Regions from separate parts of the Homo sapiens genome. Here all the other regions are linked to region 1. Evidence: promoter capture Hi-C in 16 types of primary human blood cells and fetal thymus (Javierre and others, 2016). All regions are on one chromosome and are shown on one strand. The core of a region is centred on a gene start or on the middle of the fragment in contact, and the rest is flanking DNA. Distances in the headings are between cores, read along the strand shown. Region 1 holds the start of PDE5A (phosphodiesterase 5A). Region 2 overlaps SEC24D (SEC24 homolog D, COPII component). Region 3 overlaps SYNPO2 (synaptopodin 2). Region 4 overlaps SYNPO2 (synaptopodin 2).

Evidence for each region. The method cuts DNA at HindIII sites, captures the fragments that hold promoters and counts their contacts. A CHiCAGO score of 5 or more calls a contact.
Region 2: a contact is called between a fragment that was not itself captured here and the fragment with the promoter of PDE5A in region 1, in 1 of 17 cell types (fetal thymus). The highest score is 6.1, in fetal thymus.
Region 3: a contact is called between a fragment that was not itself captured here and the fragment with the promoter of PDE5A in region 1, in 5 of 17 cell types (total B cells, fetal thymus, activated CD4 T cells and 2 more). The highest score is 6.0, in total B cells.
Region 4: a fragment that was not itself captured here is called in contact with the fragment with the promoter of PDE5A in region 1 in 1 of 17 cell types (endothelial precursors); the score reaches 5.3 in endothelial precursors.

What each region holds. Positions count from the first base shown.
Region 1 is chr4:119,626,442-119,631,963 of GRCh38, reverse strand. PDE5A (phosphodiesterase 5A) reads left to right here and starts at 3,160. Exons shown (of 21, transcript NM_001083.4): 1 at 3,160-3,444. The coding sequence starts at 3,293. LOC107986192 (a long non-coding RNA gene) reads right to left here and starts at 4,174. Exons shown (of 1, transcript NR_165235.1): 1 at 1,209-4,174. RefSeq lists silencers at 2,827-3,226, 4,447-4,726 and an enhancer at 4,267-4,316. The HindIII fragment of the contact is 7,676 bases long and covers 1-5,522 here.
Region 2 is chr4:118,762,157-118,767,678 of GRCh38, reverse strand. It overlaps SEC24D (SEC24 homolog D, COPII component), which reads left to right. Exons shown (of 23, transcript NM_014822.4): 10 at 2,762-2,877. Among named protein-coding and RNA genes, the nearest start is that of SEC24D, 71 kb to the left of the region's middle. The HindIII fragment of the contact is 5,143 bases long and covers 1-5,057 here.
Region 3 is chr4:118,971,441-118,976,962 of GRCh38, reverse strand. The region is part of intron 1 of SYNPO2 (synaptopodin 2); the gene reads right to left. All of the region lies in intron 2 of SYNPO2-AS1 (SYNPO2 antisense RNA 1), which reads left to right. Among named protein-coding and RNA genes, the nearest start is that of SYNPO2-AS1, 11 kb to the left of the region's middle. The HindIII fragment of the contact is 1,805 bases long and covers 1,574-3,378 here.
Region 4 is chr4:118,992,295-118,997,816 of GRCh38, reverse strand. The region is part of intron 1 of SYNPO2 (synaptopodin 2); the gene reads right to left. Among named protein-coding and RNA genes, the nearest start is that of SYNPO2-AS1, 10 kb to the right of the region's middle. The HindIII fragment of the contact is 915 bases long and covers 2,196-3,110 here.

The DNA of each region.
Region 1 (5,522 bases), core at 1,911-4,410:
TTTGTTTGTTATAAATAGCATTAACAGCATTTTTCAAGTTATATCCTGGGAGTGTTTATGATTTACTTATTCTTCAACTAATTCCATAACAAGATTTGAGGTGCTTAGAACAATTCATGCCAAGTTAAAACAAAATAATTGGGCAAATTGGGATAAAGAATAAAATGGAGTTGAAAAACAAGAGGCCCAGGTAATGTCAGTTCAAAATATGCTTACCTTTAACTACTTTAAATTTACAGGAGGTATAGTTACACATTTTGGCTGAATCTCCCAGAGACTAGAACTGTTTGAGACACTTCTGTTCCCCAATCCCTTGTGATATGTTTCTCAGGTAATAGGCCTTCACAGTAACTCCCAAACTATCATATATACCACACAGACTTGAGATTCACTATTGAGAGAATCTATGTACTGTTTTTCTTTTTTTTTCTTTTTTGTTATAGAGCCGGGGGTCTTACACTGTCACTGAGGCTGAAGTGCAATGGCACGATCATGGCTCACTGCAGCCTTGACCTCCTGGGCTCAATCCTCTTGCCTCAGCCTCTCGAATAACTAGGATTACAGGTGTGTTCCCCCATGCCTGGCTAATTTTTAAAAATTTTGTGTAGAGATGGGGTCATGCCATGTGGCCCAGGCTGGTTCAAACTCCTGAGCTCAAGTATCCTTCTACCTCTCCCTCCCAAAGTTCTGAGATTACAGGAATGAGCCACTGTGCCCAGCCTATAGATTGTTTTTCTTGAAGCAATTTTTCAGAAACCTTCCTGGTTTCTGATAATTTAACCCTTTCAGGTTAGGAGAGAAAAATGAACATTTTGATATTACCCACTGTCTTAGTCCATTTGTGTTGCTGTAATAAAATATCACAGACTGGGATATTTATAAACAATAGAAATTAATTTCTCTCAGTTCTGGAGGCTGGAAACTCCAAAATCAAAGTGCCAGCAGATTTGGCAACTGGTGAGGGCTGCTCTTTGCTTACAAAATGGCACCTTGTTGCTGCATCCTCAGCAAGGGTCAGTGCTGTGTCTTCACATAGTGGAAAGAATAGAAGGGGCCAACTGTCTCCTTTGGGCCTTTTTTTAAAAAGGCACTAATGCATTCACAAAGGCAGAGCCCTAATGGTCTAATCACCACTTAAAGGCACCTCCTCTTAATACTGTTGAATTAGGGATTAAGTTTCAACATGAATTTTGGAGGGAATACAAACATTGAAATGATTATACGTGTTTATTTAATCAAGTATCCAACAAAAGCAAATAATTCAAGCCCCAAATTCACTGCATCTTTAGTAGATAAGCAGAGTTTTAAATTACGATTGATCTCCTGTTAGGAGGAATGCATGGATTTCCACAAGAAAAAACTGTACTGAGGAGAAACTTTCCACAGTAATGTGCCACTTTTCAGTCAACGACAGACCACATATATGAGTCCCATAAGATAATACTATATTTTTACTGTACCTTTTCTATGTTTAGATATGTTTAGACACACAAATATCATTGCATTACAATTGCCTACAGTATTCAGTACAGTAATATGCTGTATAGATTTGTGGTCTAGGAGCAATAGCCTAAGTGTGTAGTAGGCTGAGCCATCTATTTTGTGTTAGTACACTGTGATGTTCAGAGAAGGATGAAATTGCCTAAGGATACATTTCTCAGAATGTATCCTGTTGTTCGGTGACGCATGACTGTATTCCATGAGCACTATAATCACTATCATAGTAACACATTAGGAGAGAATTCTCATTTCTAAATCCAATATAATTTATCACCCATTAGTTCATACTCTACTGCTTTGATTGCTTTTCTTTGGTTGTGGCTACCTGCATACAGCAGTAAAGTTTCAGAAAAACTGAAGTCGCAAAAGGTCAATTACTCAATGAAGGAAAGATAAACCATTGCATTGGGGGACTAGAAGATACTTTTAAAAGTTCTCAGATTATCAATTTAATGATGTGTTTCTATGTAGTGAATAATGCCTTAAATTCTTGCCAAGAGTATTTAGAAGGAAGTTGTCAGAAGTATATCAGCTAACTCATTTTTTTTTATATCACTGCTAATGGTGTCATTCACACATTGTGCAACCCATAATTCCAGATTTAATTCTACCAAAAAATATAGGTCATTGCAAAATGCCATATTAAAACTGCCAATGCATGACAGGAAGATGGGGATGCAGACAAAGCAAAGGATGACACCAATTCCTTTTTTAAAGAAGCAAGATAGGGATTGGACAAAAAGGCTGAGCCATTTTTAATGGATACTTTTGAGGGAGTGTTAATTCCAATTTAATTAAAATGATGCATTAATTTAAAATTGGGATAACTGGTTGCCCTCGACTGCACCTGGGTTGCGCCAGTGCTCTCGGATTAACCTAATTGTACAGAGGTGCCCTTGTTTTCTAACTTCATGCACAAAGCATTGGAAATTATTTGTTTGCTTTTTCTTTTCCAAGTAAATCTTTTTCCAGTTATGCATAAGGGAAGTTTGAGGCAATGGTTAAAGGCACTTAAGTTATAATTATTGCTGTTATCATTAACATTAAGCACGGGTATGGCTTTGTTGCAAGTTACCCACCTACACCTGCAAATCTCTCTTGCTAGCACACGCCCCAGCTCTCTCCACCCGCAGTGGTCCGTGGCTGGACCGCTTTAAGTCACTGAGCGGGCTGGGCTCTGAAGGAGGTCGGTCCCGCTCCTCCCAGACCCAAGCGTAGGGCTAGGGAAAAGCTAGGCGGGAAGGTCATTGCACTCCCAGGCCCCAGGAAAAGGGCCCAGGGTCTCATCATCTCTTACTTTCGGGCAAAACTTCCCACATCGCGACCTTCCCTCCCTGGGGCACTCTGAGAACACACCCAGTCACCTAGCGCGCTCCCCAGAAGTCGGCTTGGCACACAGCGCACCCCAGCGGCCGCGCGGCCTCCTTCCAGCCGCCGCCACTTGGCTTCCGGAGAGCTCGCCGGGCGCTGCCGCTGCCGCCGCCGCCGCCGCCTCCTGGGAACCAGGGGACTGAAGAGCCTGCGAGAGCGGAACACTGCCGGACCCCGGGTGGGGGGGGCGCAGCAGCTGCGCCTGGCCCCGCCCACCACACCTGGGCGCCCGTAGAACCGCGCGGGGCGGGGCGGGGCAGGAGGCTGGCCTGGCGCTCCGGCCGCTTTGTCGAAAGCCGGCCCGACTGGAGCAGGACGAAGGGGGAGGGTCTCGAGGCCGAGTCCTGTTCTTCTGAGGGACGGACCCCAGCTGGGGTGGAAAAGCAGTACCAGAGAGCCTCCGAGGCGCGCGGTGCCAACCATGGAGCGGGCCGGCCCCAGCTTCGGGCAGCAGCGACAGCAGCAGCAGCCCCAGCAGCAGAAGCAGCAGCAGAGGGATCAGGACTCGGTCGAAGCATGGCTGGACGATCACTGGGACTTTACCTTCTCATACTTTGTTAGAAAAGCCACCAGGTAAGAAGAGGACCCACGGAAGACCCGGGGCTGATTTCTCTCCCCTGTTGAATTGTGCCCTTCGTTCACCCCTGTTCCCAGGCCCTTTGCTTTTGAAGTAGGTCCTCGGTCCTGTTACGAGGTAGAAACCTCAACTCTAAGCGAGCACAGTCGAAAAACTCAAGTGTCGGATTTGATACAACTTGCTCACAAAGTTCAAATACAAAAATGTACTTGCCGACCTCCCACCCTCACCCCCGACCCTCTTGGTATTCCCCGGGAACATGATTATTTTCATACATCCGTGCTCACGGGCCTTCCCCTAGCCCCTCTCTAGCCCTCTGGTTCCCCAAAATCCAATCAGCAAAACCCAAACAGTTTCTGAGCCCCTTCCCTGCAGCTCCGGAAGCACCATTTCCAAGTCGGTCTTGATGGCTCCGCTCCTCCCCCGTCCCCCCTCGCCCTGGCCCTGGCTGGGCGGGGAAGCTGGGGTGAGGGACGAGTCCACGGGACAGCCCAAAGGCAACATGACGGAACCTTGCCAAAGTGAGTGCGGTTGCCTTTTCCCCCCTTCCAGTCTCCTGCTTGTCCCGCGCGCCTCCTTTCACTCGCTTTTCCGCCGAAGGCTGTGCCGCCAAAAGTAGAGCTCTGCAGAGGGGTTTGCGGCGTGCACACAAAGGGCGCAGGGGAGGCGCCGCCTGGAGCGGACCCCAAGGGGCAGCGCAGACCCCAGAGGCCAGCTCTTTCTGGTCCAGAGCCAAGCGCCGGGGCGGCCCTTGCGGAGGGCGGGGAGGAGGGAGCCTGTCCTTTTGGAGGCGGCTGCGCAGCGGGCAGTCGGGGCGCTCGTGGGAAACGCTCGCGGGAGAGTTGGGGAGGAATTGAGACTGGGAGCAGAGGGACAAGAAGAGTGGAGCAGAGAGTGCTTGGCGGGCGGGTGCCCCGAAGCCTGAGGAATTGATGCATAGTCGGGGTGCGTGGACTCCAGGACGCGCCCCTTTGCAGAAAGAGTCCGTGCCCCGCTGCCGCCTGCTCTGGGCAGCGGCCGTCGGGCAGCGGGTGCTGGCCGTCTTGGCCGGGAGGGTGACACACGCCCGGCAGTGATGGTCGAGGAGCCCGCCCGGGTTCGACGCCCGGGTCCCACTCGCCGGCGCGCGGCCGCGGCTCTGCCGGTCGCTCCCCGCCAGGGGGCGGCGCAGCGCGGGGCGAGCGGGAGGCGACGGGCGGCGGCGCGGAGGCCGGGGCCGTGAGGGAGCTGGTTCTGAGTCGCCGACCTCACCTCACCTCACCTGCGCGCGTTGTTGCCCCTACGGAGCCTCCTGGAGTCCAGGATCGGCGGAGTTCGAAAACGAACTTCCCACGTTTGCTATGTTGCCCTTTGGAGACAAAACAAGGTACTTCCTTCAGCATCCCCCTACGTCCCTTCCCACTTTTTCCGGGGGCGCGGCGGGTCTCGGGTGCTGGGTGGTGGCGCCCCGGTGGCACCAGTGGGACGATGTATCATTGAAAATTGACTGTATAACTTTTGTTGTTGTTGTTATTCTTTGCTCTCTTGCAGATGTATTAATAAGGGTCTTAAATTGGGCCCTTTTTAATCTTGTTTTGTTTTGTTTTGTTTTGTTTTTTTCCTAAGGAACATCCAGAGTTGGTGTCAATTTAGTCACTTTCAGGGTTTTTTGACAGAGGGGAAGGCTCCGGGATTAATCTTTTCAATTTAATAACCCAGCCCTTCTTTTAAAATCGTCTTCCCCCGCTTTCACCTTCTTCCTTCAAAATCCTAAATCTTGAGCGCCCAGAGGATAGCCCTGAAAGGGCACTTTTTTGCGAGTTTAGCGTGAGACACTAAGGCCATGGAGGTCTAGAATGATCGGTTGCTGTCGACTAACAGTTTTCAGGGGTCACCTGCCCCTCTGAGGCCATCTGCACCCACTTTCCTTTCACTCTGCGCATTCCCAGCCTTCTGCTCTCCTTGAATTACAGCGCATAGAATGATCAGGGGGCCAGAGAACCAGGCCGATTTTTAAAAGTATGTATTGGACCTGTTCTTTAGGCAGATTATAAACAGTTTAAAGAAAAAAAGTTATTGTTTAATAAATCAGCAT
Region 2 (5,522 bases), core at 1,237-3,736, 860 kb after region 1:
TTATTAAAAAGGGCTTTCCCGTATTCATTATATTTTGTTTTATTCCAGTACGAATTTACTGATTTTGAAGAAAACTGCTAAGTTGCTGAAAGTGTTTTCACATTTATTACATTTATAACATGTCTATATATTTTTAATTATTTGTTGTTAAATGAGGTACATACTGAGGCTGAGAACATTCCCATATTCATTGACATTTTTTGAACCATGTGATGATTACTAGAGTATGAGTTTTCTTCTCTGTTTCTTATCTTTGTAGACAGGCTTCCCTGCAGGTAATTAGATCTGAAGAACATATAGCACTGTCTGCCTGTGAACACATGGTTCTACCCACGGGTGCTGACTACTCCCTAATGCTGACTGAGCTGGGGACAGTATTCCTCCTACATCATTACATTCATGGCATCTTGGCTCTGTGAGCATTCTCTGGTGGGAGAGCGTTGCTTGCCTTCTTATTTCCCTGCCACCTTATCTCGCACACACACAGTCCATGGCTTTACCCAACTTAGGGCGCCAGAGACTGGCCTTGCGAGTGCTTCTCATGCAGACCTTTGGTCAGTTCTTAAACGCACCTTGCTGTGGAGTTGAATCATTGGCTTCTAGACTCATCCCAGCCTATGGCCTAAGCCTCTTGGTACGTCTCTCTCCTTACATTAACTATGGTTTCCACTCAGGGCAAATTGGATATCCCATTGAGACCAGATTGTTAGTTCTCTACCCTCACTTCTCTTTCTAAGGAAGATCTTGTTTCCTCTCTCAACCTGAATGAAATCTGCAACCAAATTCATGGCTATCATTCAGTCTTGGGACCTGGATTTCAGGAACCCTGTGACAATTCATTTCTCTGTGCTTTAGTTTTAGAGGAAAAAATCCTGAGAAGGGACAGAGGCTTCTCCCAAAGCATTTGGACAAAGTCCTCCAGCGAGCCCACCAGCTCCTCAGATGTCTTCACCCAAGCCCCCAGCTTTCTTAGAAAGGTGACCAAAATCATACCCACCATGAAGAGCAGCAAGGATCTTCAGTTTGCTGTGACTCTTTGGCCTCCTACCCAAAGTGTCGGCTCAGGGCCTTAAAAGGCCCAGCCACTTCCAGGAAGAGAAAAACGACTCAGAATTCTTGTGTCTCAACACAGCAGATTATGTTCCCTCAGGTATCCATTCCTAGGAAGCTGCCATGTTTATTTTCCAATAGAATTATTCACACTAGGCTTAAATATGTGTCCCTACAAGGAAGCCAGACTCCCATAGATGTATGCTGACACCTGTCTTCTTTTAGGTTTAACAAAGACAGAGGTTTGTTGGAGTTAGAAAGAACCCAGCAGGCTTGCTTTAGTGATTCCACTCTTATTTCCTTGCAAAGTGTCCAGAGATTGTCCAGTGGGGAGTATGTGTGGTCAGAGACATGCAGGAAGACAGGGGCCAAAGGGTAGTACATGATTTATGGTATGAGTTGAATGTTGGCTTACAAAAGATGATAGACAATATTAAATGCTAATGAATATAAAATAAAATTTAAAGGGAAAACATTTCACATATTACATTTCTGTGTGTAGATGTGAATGAATTGTATGTTATACTATGTGGAAACTACTGTACTATGCATTCTAAGATAGCCGAGGCAGCATCCTCCATCTCATCTAAATGTAACAAAATAGCAATTTAAGACCCTCAAAGTTTACTTACCTCAGCTGAGCCTGTCAGTTGCTACTTATGTAATCTTTTCAAGAAGTTGAATCTTCCAAATTCAGAGATCCATATGTGCATAAGAACCTTATAAAATTTACTTTAAAAGAAATGGCCATGATACAGTAACAACGTAGAACAATCAAGCCTCAGTGGGTTTTTTTTTTAAAAAAAGAACAACCTCAGAAAACAGTCTTGTTATTCTTATGTCAGTTTCACAGCTAACAATAAATAATGCCAAATTGTTGGCTTAAAAACAAGAAGCATTATTTGTATGGTTTTTACAAATGGCAATGTTGTTCTTTACAAAAAGTTTAAAACCAGAGCATTGGTAGTTTTTCTAAATACTTTTATTGGCAGTGGTTTAGTAGCCAGCCCTATTAATCTCAAGGCAACAGGAGTTCGTTTTTACAGAGATACCAGGCCATATTTGTCCAAGTGCTCAGTATGTGACTCATAAGTGTTCCTGTGCTATTGGATGACTTCCAGATCTTTGCCAGAACTAACCTTCTTAGACATTTGAATCAAATTAAAGTTCCTTAGCTGAGATCTTAGTGGTGTAGTCTTTCCCTAATACAGTAATCCTCTCCACTCTTAAGCGCAAACATTAAAAGATTACCATGCAAACTCCACATGGGTGAAGACATCTCTTAATTAAAGCATAATAAATATTGTAGTTCATAGTATAGTTCAAATAACGAATGTTTATTTCTGTTAGGTATATTAAAAATTCAAATAGTTAGAAAAGTCAGAATTCTTTTTAAAAGAGGTAATAAAATGGGGACAATTGAATTTGGGTTGTGACAACTTAAAAACACCAATACTTTTATACCCTGTTTCTCTAGGATGGTCTAAATCATAAATGTTCTTTGTCATCAATAACTTATAGAATAAGAACCCTCCTCTTTTCCAAGACATGTTTTTAAAATAGTAGGTATTTACGGTATACTACATTCCAGCTTTAAAATACATTTTTCCAGATACTAACTCCTTTCCTCTCATAATAAATTTTGAGAACTTACTAAATTGTCTGTGTTTATGAAAACAAAATATTTTCTTTCCTATTTTGTTTTTATTAGTTCCACCATTCTATTTCCAACATCTGGACCACATTGGAAGAAGACTGGACCACTATGAGAAACCAGAGTTATCTCTAGGATCTTATGAATATGTTGCCACTTTGGATTATTGCAGAGTAAGTGTTCCCAGAACTTCAAGTGTTTATACATTGATGTTAAATTCAAGTGAATAACTTTCATATGTAAAGAACTGACTCTTGATTCACAAACAAAGCATTTTGGTGGTACCATGGAGTGGTAGAAATGCCTAAGACACAGATCCCATCTCCTAGGTTGTTAACATGATTCAACTGCCAAACCATCTACTGGAGGAATTATTTTTAAAAACTGAAATGTGGTGTCAGAAATAGAAAACAATAATTTTTTATGTCCTTGCCAGACAGAATATACCTGGTTCTTAATGCAGTAGTTCCGTACAGTGCCTCTGCCTCCCTTATTTTGTAAAGAGTCTCAGAAAAACTTCCCTTCCAAGAGAAAAGCTCAACCAAAATGGTTAGTAGGACTATTGACGTGTTTCTGTACCTCCCTTCCCTCCTGTTGCTACCACGATGGTTTGGACTCTCAGAATCCCCCTTACACTGTCTATCTCAGCAGGCTGAGATCCTGGCCTTTGATTTTCCTGCTCTATAATGTCACCATGAGACACGCCCCCACACTCACTGCCTCTCATAAACCTCTATTGGTTATTTCTTTTCTAAAAAATTAAATTAAAAAAAATTTAGCTTTCTTTGTAAGGCCATTAAGCATTGCCCCCCAAACTATCACCTCAGCTGTCTCTTCAGTTATACAAAACTTTTCACCACATACTCTGAACTCAGCCCCTTTGACAACTCCATGCCTTTATACCAGATGTTCATCTGACCAGAGTATCTTTCCATTCTCCTGTCACATCTTACATACCCCAACTGGCAAACCCCTCCCTATTCTGTAATGCCTGGCTGAAATTTTAATTGTGTATATGCATTTGCAACTTTCTCTGTCTTTATCATGGTAATTATTTACTATAGCTTCTGTTTTTTCACGGAATTTGGTCTATATCTCTATTTTAGCATTTATCCCCATGGAATTTAAACCTTCTTATATGTCTGCCGTCTTCTTAGATTCTGATATCCTCGTCATCTTTATGACATTTACCACACTATCTGCCATGGGATAGGTAGTTGATCAGTGTATGTGGAATGAATAAAACAATGAATTTGCGGGTATTACTATTCCCAGGACTAGCCATTTCCCTTGTCCAGTGTCACAATGACATCATTATGGATACCTTGCAAGGCTTTAAAATTCTTCACTGATTTGAAAATCACATCTTCTTGCGTATCATTCAGATTTCAGCGCATATCTGAAGCACCATGTGTAGACTTGAAGAAACAGGGCCATTCTAACTTATTTTCTTATTTTCTCTTCTAAAAATGAGTGCCTACTAATGCCCAATTCCCAGAAAACAGCTTCTGACCCACAGATTTCTTTCATAGATGTTTGCAAGGCGAGCAGTCATGTATTGAGTGTAGATGATAATGAACATTTTTCCTAACTAGAATTTTTTTCAGTTGACTGGCTCTTAAAATTTTTTCCATTAACATAACTTATTGCATTTATTTTACTACTTTATATGATTATTTTGCAATATACTACGTAGAACTAGTTGTTAAAGAAAATGTGATGCTTTATTAGTTTAAGATGTTGCAACATCTGAACATACTTAGGGAAATTTAGGAATATTTTTGGTACAAATGCTTTATTTTAGGCAAGAAGCATGTCCTAAAATACAGTGACTTTTGGACAGTTTAGTTGTTCCTAACTGCTGTTAACTGAAGGAGAATCATTGGGCAACATGCAAACATTTAATGTTTTAATTCAATGTAAGAAAGCCATTGTAACTAATGATGGAAAATTTATTTGCCGATCTTTGCAACCATAGTATAAATCTAACCCTGCTCTCAGTTTCTAGTTCTCTGCCAAAAAAGTGACATGATCTTGATTATATGCTTTTTTAGTAGTAACTTAGGCAGAGAGTCAAATCTGTTTCTGGGAACAAAAGTCTTAGTATCTTCAAACTCTGTTATCTGGAAATATTCCAGAAGTCTAATTGATGGGAAATCTCACCCAGCCAGGCAAGGAACCAAATAAAAATTGTACATTTTGAAGAACTTTTTGTAAGCATAATCTTCCTTTTATTATTCCAAGTAGAGTTCATAATAAATATGCTGTAAACATCTTCAAATTTGATTATAATTTAAAATGTAAATAAAGTATAATAATGAGTTGGCTTAGCTATTCAGACAATGAAAAAGCTTATTTAATTTGTACATGTATTTTTTACACCATGCACTTGGAAAGAGGAATTACAAAATCACATTTTCCTATTCATCTTGGCTCATCTTAATGTTGATTTTAGATGGTAAAATTAACATTATTGAACATTTACCATGTGCCAAGCTGTAGGCTAAATTCTTTCTATGTATTGTATCATTTAGTCCTCACGGTGAACCCATGTGGTGCGTACCATCATTACTTGAGGAAACTTAGGCTTAGAGACCGCGTAAGTGCCAGCTTCAGGCCATACATCCAGAAAGTAACAGAGCCAGACTGAAAACCGTATCTGTGTGATCACAGAAGCCCTATTCTCTAATCAGTACACTGTGTATACATGAGCAAGTATTAACACAATCATCCTGGAGTTCCCTCAGAAAAAAAAAGGCCTCAGCTTTGCCATATAACTGAGAGTTTATCATTAATAAGTTTATGGAATATATCTGCA
Region 3 (5,522 bases), core at 1,227-3,726, 650 kb after region 1:
TGGTGGGGACGTGGAGAGTCTTTATTATCTAGCTCAGGGATTGTAAATACACCAATCAGCACCCTGTGTTTAGCTCAAGGTTTGTGAGTGCACCAATCGACACTCTGTATCTAGCTGCTCTGGTGAGGACGTGGAGAACCTTTATGTCTAGCTCAAGTATTGTAAATACACCAATCGGCATTCTGTATCTAGCTCAAGGTTTGTAAACACACCAGTCAGCACCCTGTGTTTAGCTCAAGGTTTGTGAATGCACCAATCGACACTCTGTATCTAGCTGCTCTGGTGGGGCCTTGGAGAACCTGTGTGTGGAAACTCTGTATCTAACTAATCTGATGGGGACGTGGAGAACCTTTGTATCTAGCTCAGGGATTGTAAATGCACCAATCAGCGCCCTGACAAAACAGGCCACTCGGCTCTACCAATCAGCAGGTTGTGGGTGGGGCCAGATAAGAGAATAAAAGCAGGCTGCCCTAGCCAGCATTGGCAACCCGCTAGGGTCCCCTTCCACAGTGTGGAAGCTTTGTTCTTTTGCACTTTGCAATAAATCTTGCTACTGCTCACTCTTTGGGTCCACGCTGCTTTTATGAGCTGTAACACTCACCGCGAAGATCTGCAGCTTCACTCTTGAGACCACGAGCCCAGCGGGAGGAATGAATAACTCCAGACGCGCTGCCTTAAGAGCTGTAACACTCACTGCAAAGGTCTGCAGCTTCACTCCTGAGCCAGCGAGACCACGAACCCACCAGAAGGAAAAAACTCCGAACACATCTGAACATCAGAAGGGACAGACTCCAGACGTGCCAACTTAAGAGCTGTAACACTCACCGCGAGAGTCCGCGGCTTCATTCTTGAAGTCAGTGAGACCAAGAACCCACCAATTCTGGACACAAAGTCACTAGAGTCAATCCAGTTATTGGGCAAGAAAGATTTCAAAAGCTCTGGTAGGGGACAGGGAGTCTATTAATAAATGGCAGTCTCCATAGCCGGCACTTTTATATTTTTGCAACAAATCTGTAAAATATTTATTTTTCTCCTGACTTTGAGGAAAGTAAGGCTCACAAAAGTTATGGGACTTGTGTCTGATCATACAGCTAGTGGCAGGAGAATGAAATTCAAGTTCAAAGGCATTTACTATGGTAGATTCCCTCTCAGGCTGTGGAGCACATATTCTTAGCCCTGTGTTTTTTGGGGTATGAGACTGGGTCACTTAATGCTGGTTGGCTCTGATCCAGAGTCCAAGTTTTGATGATTAGGCTTCTGCCTTGTGCTAGGGAACTAATCCTGTAACTATATCCCTGTGTGTCTTACTCTTTGTGACTTAATTGTGCCCTTAATAAATTGTGTGGTAACCCAGCTCTTCTATGACAGGAATTTCCCCTTGCACCTCCTCCTCCTTCCTGGGGGTGAAAGTCCTGCTCTTGAATTTCGCCTGATTGCTTGGACTCTGCTACCACTTGTTAGTAGATATCCCAAGTCCTGTCTGTGTGTATCCTTAAGTTCCTCATAATGGTTGTATTGGATCCTTCATCTCTGTTTGTCATTCATATGCCAGCCTATTCCCACTCTTAAAGCTTGGCTTTTTCTGAAAGGAACTTCTTGCCCAGACAACCCCAAATTTTCTGTTGCCATAGGTGCCCAAACTCTATTCTACTTGTTGATTAGTCTTCCTTCTAGCAGTAGTACTACATAGATTTTGGGATCTGTCACCCAAATTATTTGTTACTCTGTGTGCTGGTCTTTGTCTAGCTCCTTTAGCCCAATGACTGAGCGATATGTGGCCCATAAGATAAGTATGACAGAACAGTGGTGGGAAAGAGTCTGGTGTACTCCTGGAGGTGCAGAGGGTGGCCTCACGTGGGTGCAAGGTGTGTGTGACAGGTTATTGAAAGTAAGGTTGGATTACTGGGGTAGAACCATATTGAAAAGAGTTTTGAATGCCAGAATGTAACACTTGGCTCTCATCCAGTAGTGATGAGAAATTATTATTGGTTTGTAAGCACTCTAGGGAGATTAGTCAGTGTGTAGGATGGACTAGACAGGAGATGACTGAAGATAGAGAAACAAGGAAACCATTAAAGTTCTGCAAAAACAACGTGATGAGAGCCTGGATTAGAGTTATCTGTAATAACCCCAGGAAGGAGGTAAGAGACAACATTTGAAGCAAACTGCACCTTAGTGAGAGATAGGGTATGTAGAGAAGCAGAAGTCAAGGATGAATCTAAAGTCCTAATAATGGTGATGCTGTTGGTAGAAGAAAGAAACATAGGGAAAGAATCAAAATCTGGGGAAAGAAACCCTAAAATCCCAGCTCTCTTTTCAAAATTTTCAGTATTAACATTGATTGTATGTGAGAACATTGCTAGCAAGTATCCAAGCAAAGGGATGTGTTAAAATCAATCAAATTGTTGAATTAAGACTAGAAGACAAATGAAAAATCAAGGCTGAACATATCAATTAGGGATAGATGTGGGAGAAGTCATAGGTGTGGACAAGTGAACTGTGAGGGAAGTCAAACCTAATCTGGCAAGAAATCCAGTTTTCCACAATATTCTGGGTCTAGGCCTCTGCTGGGCCAGTGGCCAAGGATGGGCAAGAGAGTCAAGGATGGACTGTATATTCACAAACAAGAAAGCCTGTTATATAACTTGGCTCTAAAAAGAGCCACCACTACAACTAGGTATGGAATCTCTAAGGCCTGAGATACAATACCTGTGTGAGATTTTCTATCTCATCCCACTGAGAAATGCTACAGATGCCACTTGCTACGGCTGATTCCCTTTGAGCACTAAAATTTACTCTCCCACTAAAGGTGTTGTAGAAATGCCTCTTTTCTTAGCTCAAACATAATTATTGTCCAGGTTTAATATTTAGCTATGTTTAACTCTCATTCTCAACTCTCTTTTCAAAAATTAAAATCATATGACCAAGATAAGCAGGTTGATGATTTAAGTCAGCGTCCTCAGCTGTATAATGGGAACAATAATACCTGACTCCTGCTTTTGTGAAGAAAGAAGAATCTTAAAACAGGTCAATGAAGAATTTACTTGTGTTAAACTATGTTCTGAGTGATGTTAGATTGCTTATTTCAGTGGGGTTTGTTTAGGTTTTATGTCCAGTGGCTACTGATTGGTGTAGCCTATATAGCTTTTATGTAACTTCAGGACCAAACTAGGCTTCTTTTAGTTCTGATACTAATTAATATCCAAAATTGTGGTTAGGAAAATGAAAGGAAAGAAGAAAAAAATGTGGCTATTTATGGTGGGTTCTTTTGTGGGGAGGGAATTTTTTGGCTATGAACTGGCATTTGCCCAACAGTATTCCGAGTTCAGTAAATAACTCAACACGCATGGGTTAAATTTCCAATAAAAACATGAAGCTTAAAAAGTAAGTGGAAAGTACTTGGCAAGATACATATTTACATTTGGTGAAGGGAAATTTTTATGGTGGTTAGCCAAACCTGACATGCACAGGGATTAATTCATCCTCACTCATCACAGAAACGAAAACTGCCAGTATCATATCATACGTGCTATGCTGTGGCTTTCTCTTAAAAATCAGCACCACCGTGAAAGGAAGCTGACCTCTGTGTGCACACACTTAGTGCAAGTGTGTGCCTTACTAGAATCATTATACGTATATATGTATAATAAAACTACTTTTTAAAATGCTGAGAAAGTCTTATATTTGAGGTACTATAATTTTAATAATAGTATAATAGAATCCTTGAATTAATAATTCTATAATTGATGGAATTCATATAATAATTAACAGAATTCACATAATAATATAGAATTACTAATTCTATAATTCTGACTTACTCAAAAATTCAAACGTTTTTCACTCTACAGATGCTCCTCAACTTACAATGGGACTATGTCCCACAAAACCCATCATAAATCAAAAAATACCATAAGTCAAAAATGCATTTAATGCATGTATAAGCCCATTGTAAAGTTGAAACATCATAAGTTGAGTTATAATAAGTGGGGACCATTGGTGTGAAAAAGTGGTGTGAATGGGGAGAAAAAGCAGGTGAGCAAGCGGGGATAGCCAGCTTACAAAATATGTATTTCTGATCCTGTAATATCTAATTTGTTTCCAATTTTCAAATGAAAGACACTGAAATTATTAAGCACTCACTATGTGATGAAAAGTAAACTGAACTTTGAGGAGATTTTTGTAGCTTGCCCAAGGTCACAGAACTAGATTTAAACTTAGAGATGTATAACTTAAAATTGTAGGCAGTGGGCAAAACAGTTTCACCCTTGCTGACTCTGTAAACCTGACAACAATCCTAAGAGGACAATGCTAGAAGTGATGGAGAAAAAACAAAGCTAGCACCTAAGAGACAAATTTGCTCGTTTCCCTTCTGAGTTAGTTTAGACAAACTGCCCTTACAGTTTGAAGGGCTTGGAGGAAAAGAAAAAAATACATAAAAAGTGTTTTATTTTCCTATTTGGGGAAATGTAAGGGAATCAGATTCTGCTTGAAATCTCAGAATTCCCTTTTCTTTTTTTTTGAGACAGGGTCTCCCTTTGTCAGCCAGGCTGGAATGCAGTGGCATAATCACAGTTCACTGCAGCTTCCACCTCCTGGACTGAAGCCATCCTTCCACCTCAGCTTCCTAAGTAGCTGGGACTACAGGCACGCACCACTACACCCGGCTATTTTTTCTTTCTTTTTTTGTAGAGACAGGGTCTCCCCATGCTGCCCAGGTTGGTCTCAAACTCCTGGGCTCAAGTGATCCTCCCACCTCTGTCTCCCAAAGTGTACAGGCATGCATGAGCCTCTGCACTCGGCCTCAGAATTGTTTTTATAAGTATAGTTAAATATTATTCTGTCTCCTCTCTTTCTTTTATGTTCTGAGGAAGTTCTCGTCAGAAGTTAGGATAACTCCTACATAGAATTTCTGTGGAGATTAAATAGAGTTCTACATGTAAGCCTACGAAGCTGTTCAAGACCACTGTAGAGTACTATGACGCTCACTGGGACCACACTATGAGGTCTATCCCTGTAGAATTATGTGATGTTGAAGAAACCATTATTTTCCTTCTTACACTTTCTCAAAAGAGGGAATGTCCACCCCTCTCATGGATGGGAGAACATAACACTTCTGGATCTCTCCTGTCACTTCTCGGCATGGGAAGAGTAGCTAATTTGATTAAAGAGAGACTGAGTCATTGAGCCATTATTTTTCAGAGACCATGGTTACTGCATTGAAAAGGAAAAGCTGGCCAGGTCTTTCTCTTACTGCCTCAGACCACTGTGTTCACAGATGATGCGCTCACTTGTGCTTCAGGACCCAGAAAGTAGGCAAACCCTGCCCTAGCAGGCCCAGCTAGCTTTTGTTCTCCAGGCCAGCTTTGCTGTCTATGAATGAATAAGTCAGGTTGCCCTTTCACTGGAGACCCATTGGCTTTAATGTAATAAACATTAATTCCTAAAAGATATGGAAGCGCCATTCTAGCCTCAGGTCTAAGTCACATTGTCCAGTGCATCTTCATTGTGAGTAAAACTGATCA
Region 4 (5,522 bases), core at 1,404-3,903, 630 kb after region 1:
GTCTAAGGAAAGAATGTGTCTTTCTGAATGGGTTGTCTAGAAATAGAAATTAGAAAAGAGTCATAGACAAACAGTGCCCATAAAAGTACTGCCCAGAGAAGAAGGCAGCCAGACTAAAGATTTGCTCTGCCTGGTGCAAGTAACAGGTGCATTCAACTGCAGAGGTGAGCAGAGCAGGCATCCACTATTGAATCTTTCAACTCACAGACTTTGTTCTGATTTCACACTCACAAATCTAGCTTTACTAATAAATTTGGTTCCTAAGGGAAACTATCACACTGACCAGAAGATGCAGGTATTCAGTCTTATCAATATGTTTTTTCCCTCCCTCTGAAGCAAGAAACTAGAATTCTAGTTTAGCCTCAGTGTCCCGTGTCTTCAGGTAGCATGAGTATAGTATCCCTAGATATTGTTTGAACAATGACAAAACTGGTTTAGAATCTGCATATTTGAGAGTCAGCTGGGGACTATGCTACACTGACAAAGGTAAGGCCATCTTGAGAGATCTTATATCAGCCAGTCAATCAATGTTTCCCTACCTCATTACATTTTCTTTTAATTTTTTTTTTTTTTTTTTGAGACGGAGTCTCGCTCTGTCGCCCAGGCTGGAGTGCAGTGGCGGGATCTCGGCTCACTGCAAGCTCCGCCTCCCGGGTTCACGCCATTCTCCTGCCTCAGCCTCCCAAGTAGCTGGGACTACAGGCGCCCGCCACTACGCCCTGCTAATTTTTTGTATTTTTAGTACAGACGGGGTTTCACCGTTTTAGCCGGGATGGTCTCGATCTCCTGACCTCGTGATCCGCCCGCCTCGGCCTCCCAAAGTGCTGGGATTACAGGCGTGAGCCACCGCGCCCGGCCTTTTTTCTTTTAAATTTTTGTCAAAATTAATTGACTTCTTTTCTGCTTGCAAATGGACATTTATTGATTGCTCTGTCTTATGACACTTTTTTTTTTTTTTTTGAGACAGAGTCTCACTCTGTCACCCAGGCTGGAGTGCAGTGGCGCGATCTCAGCTCACCGCAACCTCTGCCTCCCAGGTTCGAGCGATTCTCCTACCTCAGCCTCCCGAGTAACTGGGACTACAGGCGTGTGCCACCACGCCTGGCTTATTTTTTGTATTTTGAATAGAAATGGGGTTTCACCATGTTAGCCAGGATAGTCTCAATCTCCTGACCTCATGATCCACCCCCACTGGCCTCCCAAAGTGCTGGGATTACGGGCGTGAGCACCTGGCCTTATGACATATCTTACATCTTGCGTTATATTTATTTTTATTGTACAAAAGTGTATCTCTCTCCTTGAGAGAAGGTATTGTTTTGTTTATTCAATCACTTTTTTATCAATATGGAAATGATATACAATTATATTCTCCGTATACTCAGGCTAGTAGGGGTGGCAGACAGAAAAACAAGTTATACATCTGGCAAAGGTAATAAAAGTATTCATAAAGAACAGAAGCATTGCAAAAGTGGTGGACGAAGGGGGTGGCTGATCATTTTGGGAAACCTTTCTAGAGGAGGCAATGTCTGAGTTAGATTTTGGGAGATGAGTAAAACTTCAGTCACTGCAACCAGAAAGGGGAGGAGATTTCAAAGCAATGGGAACAACAAGTGCAAAGGCAAAAGCGTGAAATGACCTGGGAACCAAAGCACAGCTTAGTGTTTCCAAGATGTGAAGTGCAAGGAAGAGAGTCATGAGAGAGATGAGGCTGGACAGGTAGAGAGAGGATGAAAAGTTTGTGTATGCCGCATAATGGAGTTCAGGCTTTCCATTGTAGGTGATAGGAGCTAGCAAAAGCTTTTCAGTACAAAAGAGCCTGGATCGGATTGTGTTTAGTAAGACATCTTTAGCATCAATGTGGGCAAAGAAATAAAAAGAGGCAAGACAGAAAAAAGCAAAATTAGATAGATGATAGATAGATAGATAGATAGATAGATAGATAGATAGATAGATAAGATAAATAGATACATGGACAGATAAAGAATGAAAGACAGCATTTGGAAAAGTCCAGACCTAGCACTATCCAATAGAAATACAACATGGACCTCAAATGTAAGCCACATGTTCAATTTTAAACTTCCTTGTAGTCATTTGTCCCAGGTCTCATAAGTTATTGGTTATTAAGGGGCAGAGCTAAGATTTAAACCTGGGTAATCTAGCTTCAGAGTCAAAGCTTATAATTTGACTCTGAAGCTTACAAAACACATTATACTGCCACTCTGAATGCAAAGCCTGTGGAATCAGACAACCTGAGTTCAAATAACTCCTCCTTCACTTACTAACTGTGTAACTTGGAGCAAGTTATTTAATTAACAAACTTTGGTTTTTCTCATTTGTAAAATTGGAAATAATATGCCTATCTTATGGGGTTTTTGAGAGGAATAACAGACATAATGTATATAAGATACCCATCACAGTGATAGGTATACAATAAATAGTAAATAATAGTTGCTATCATCACATATATTGGGCTTGGAGCTCAATATATATCCAAGTTGGAATATATATTTCCCATCAAATATCTAACATAGTATCTGGTCAGAGCTCTGTTTTTTTCAAGAAATGACTTTGATTCATCACAAAGGCATATGTTTAAAGAACTTTGCAAATGAGACCTACAGGCTGGGATCATCCTAAGTCAATAGCTCAAATAATCATGGGTATTAGATCATGAGACAGCACTGGTGAGTGTTCATGGCACTTAGATACCATAGAGAATTGCACTGGAAGTAAAATATATGTACCTTGCTCTTACATTCAAGGAGTCTAAAAGAATGAACTGAATTATGAGAGCACGTTTGTTTGTATGTCCTTTCATTAGTTTGTGATTTGAAAAATAGTAAATAAAAAATATTCATTAGACAAGGATCTATGGTTATATGCCTAAAATCCAAGAAAATTTAATCAAAGGGTCTAAGTACATCTTATCTCCTATTCAGATAATCTAATTCTTGCATGGGCAGGCATTTGGATAAGAAAACAAATGCCAAAATTTTAAAAATTAAATACCCAAAAACTAGAAACAAAGATCTTTTTCTATAACACCTACGATTTTTAACTTTAGATGTCCAAGATGTTTATGGGAATAACATGCCACTTTCTACCAAGCTTGTGGTTATGTGATGTAAATTTACTCTGTCACTAGGATTGCATTTTACCAAAACTTTGCCTTTTTCTAGATGATAAAATGCTAGGTACAAAGCCTTTTAAGAGTTTTTAAAGAAAATTCCTCTGTAACCAATTAGTACTCAAACTCAGCGATTCCCCAGTTCATATATTGAATTAACAGTGCTCATATTGATGCATCTAACCCAATTGTCACTCCATCTCTCAATTCTTTAAATTACATTTAGGTGGTAGGTCTCCTCTTTCAAAACAGGGCTCAACTAATAACACACAATGTTCTGAACGCCAAGCTCATTTGATTTTTCTCATCTCAGTTTCTGTCAGGAGACCCGCCTAGGAAACCTCTCCTCTACAAGATGTTCAGTGGTCACATGCCTGGCTTGTCCTACAGGCACAGCAGATGAGTAACAAGTGTGTTTATAGATTTTGTGATGCTCCAGCTGTCGCTGATGGCAGGGTTTTCTGCTAAAATTGGTGAATTTTTGGCTATCTGCCTCTTTCCCTGAGTAACTCAAGCATCACCAGCGGAGCACAGTGGTCTTAGGAGGCCACACGTTGGAGAAAGAAATTAGATTCTTTGTAGGAACAAAACTACTTGTCAGAGTGTGGCCTAATATGGTGGTAGTGACTGACCCAGAGGCCCCCTAGAAGAACCAAATGTTCAACAGTAATAAAAGGAACTATTAATCAGCTCAGGGGCAGTGCATAGGACTGACGATCAGCTGGTCCGGCTTAAGCCTATGTCTCTTCTGGCTTGCTAGGTAAGACTAGGCAAAGCATTAAATCATTCCGTGCTTCCAGCATCATAAGTCCTGGGATTAAACATGATAATGGAATATATTTTCAACATGTCAGAATATAAGTAAACATTCAAGAGTCCTTTAAAATTTAGAAAATTCATAAAAATATTTCAAATACAAAGTAAAAAGTAATTTGGGGGAAAAACATGGGAAGAGAGAAAAGACTCTGAAATCAGTTAAACAGGTTCTTATACAAACATCTAGAAATACCATACTAAGCTGTAGGTCATATAGGGGGAAAACCTCCATCATGGGAGTCTGTAGTCTAAGAAACTTGTAGGCCAAGAGACTTGTGCTTGAAGAGGAAAGTGGAGAAGGAAGGAGGGACATTGCTGTGGCTTACACACAAGGACAAATCCAACACTTGAGTGGTGATATGTTGAAACTCACACAGACACATTAACAAGCTGTACTTGACAATTTGATCAAATGGAATATATTTCTCCATTGACTTTTAAACCAAACTAAATCAAGGAGGCCTCGTAAAATGAGATACGTTTGTCTATAGGAAAAGGTTTCCAAATAAATTTCAATCCACTAAAATTATATTTCTCTACAATGGCTAATCCTCACCGTCCATCATGCTTACTATTTCATTTCCACTTTGTAAGGCACTATTTTTTTTTAAAGAGAATAACTACAAACACACACACGTGCACACAAACACACACAAATACACATTTTGTTTGTCTTCTCTCTCTTCCTTCTTTAATTAATTCCGAAAATCAGAATTTAATTTAAAAATTTAATTGACAATGTAAGTAATTCTCTTATGCTGCTTTATTTTCCAAGGACTAACACTGGTTTCCCATTAACTCGCATATCTACTCTTATTATCTTGCAGATCGACTCTGCTTGGTTTGAGTAGTTTTCTTAAGAAGATGAATCTAGCTTTGCCCAACCACCCACCCAGGGTCCAGAGTAGAGAATGCTTTCTCTTTGTGCAGAGCCAGAGTGGAACTGTCTTGTAGACAACAGAAGATGCCCCACATCTGAGTAGCAAGAGGTAAAGCCATGCAGAGAAGTCAGGGTCCCAAAATTGGTGGGCGCTTATGAAACTACTCTAAATGGAAGTAGAGTCAACCTCAGAAGCTTTGCTGAGCCAGGTCAGGATCTCCAAACCTAAGATGCAATAGCAAGTCCAGGTGCAAATAATTCCAGATCAAGTGCATTTATGAGGTTGTTGGTGGGTGAGTAGGTCATGGAGAGGGCTCAGGGATGGTGAGAGGAGTCCTAACTTACTGCCTATAACAGCAGGTCCTATGGTGTGAACCAAGGACCTTGGAGGCATCCCTGAGATTCTTTCAGAGGGTCTTTGGGGTCAAAACTATTTCCTAATAATAATAAGGCATTGTCACTTTCACTTTTATGAGTATACAGGGGAGCTTTCCAGAGGCTACCTGACAAGTGATGGCACCATCACTGTGATGGCTCCTGGAATGTGTGCTTCCGAAATTGGAAACCTCATTGTCATCCTTGATTCATCACACCCTCACTCCATTATTTCTTACATCATGTTGCTTCTACTTCAGGATTGTCCCTTGAATCCAGTCCTCTTTGTCACAGTTTTATTTCAGTCCTTCCTCAGACTGTTTC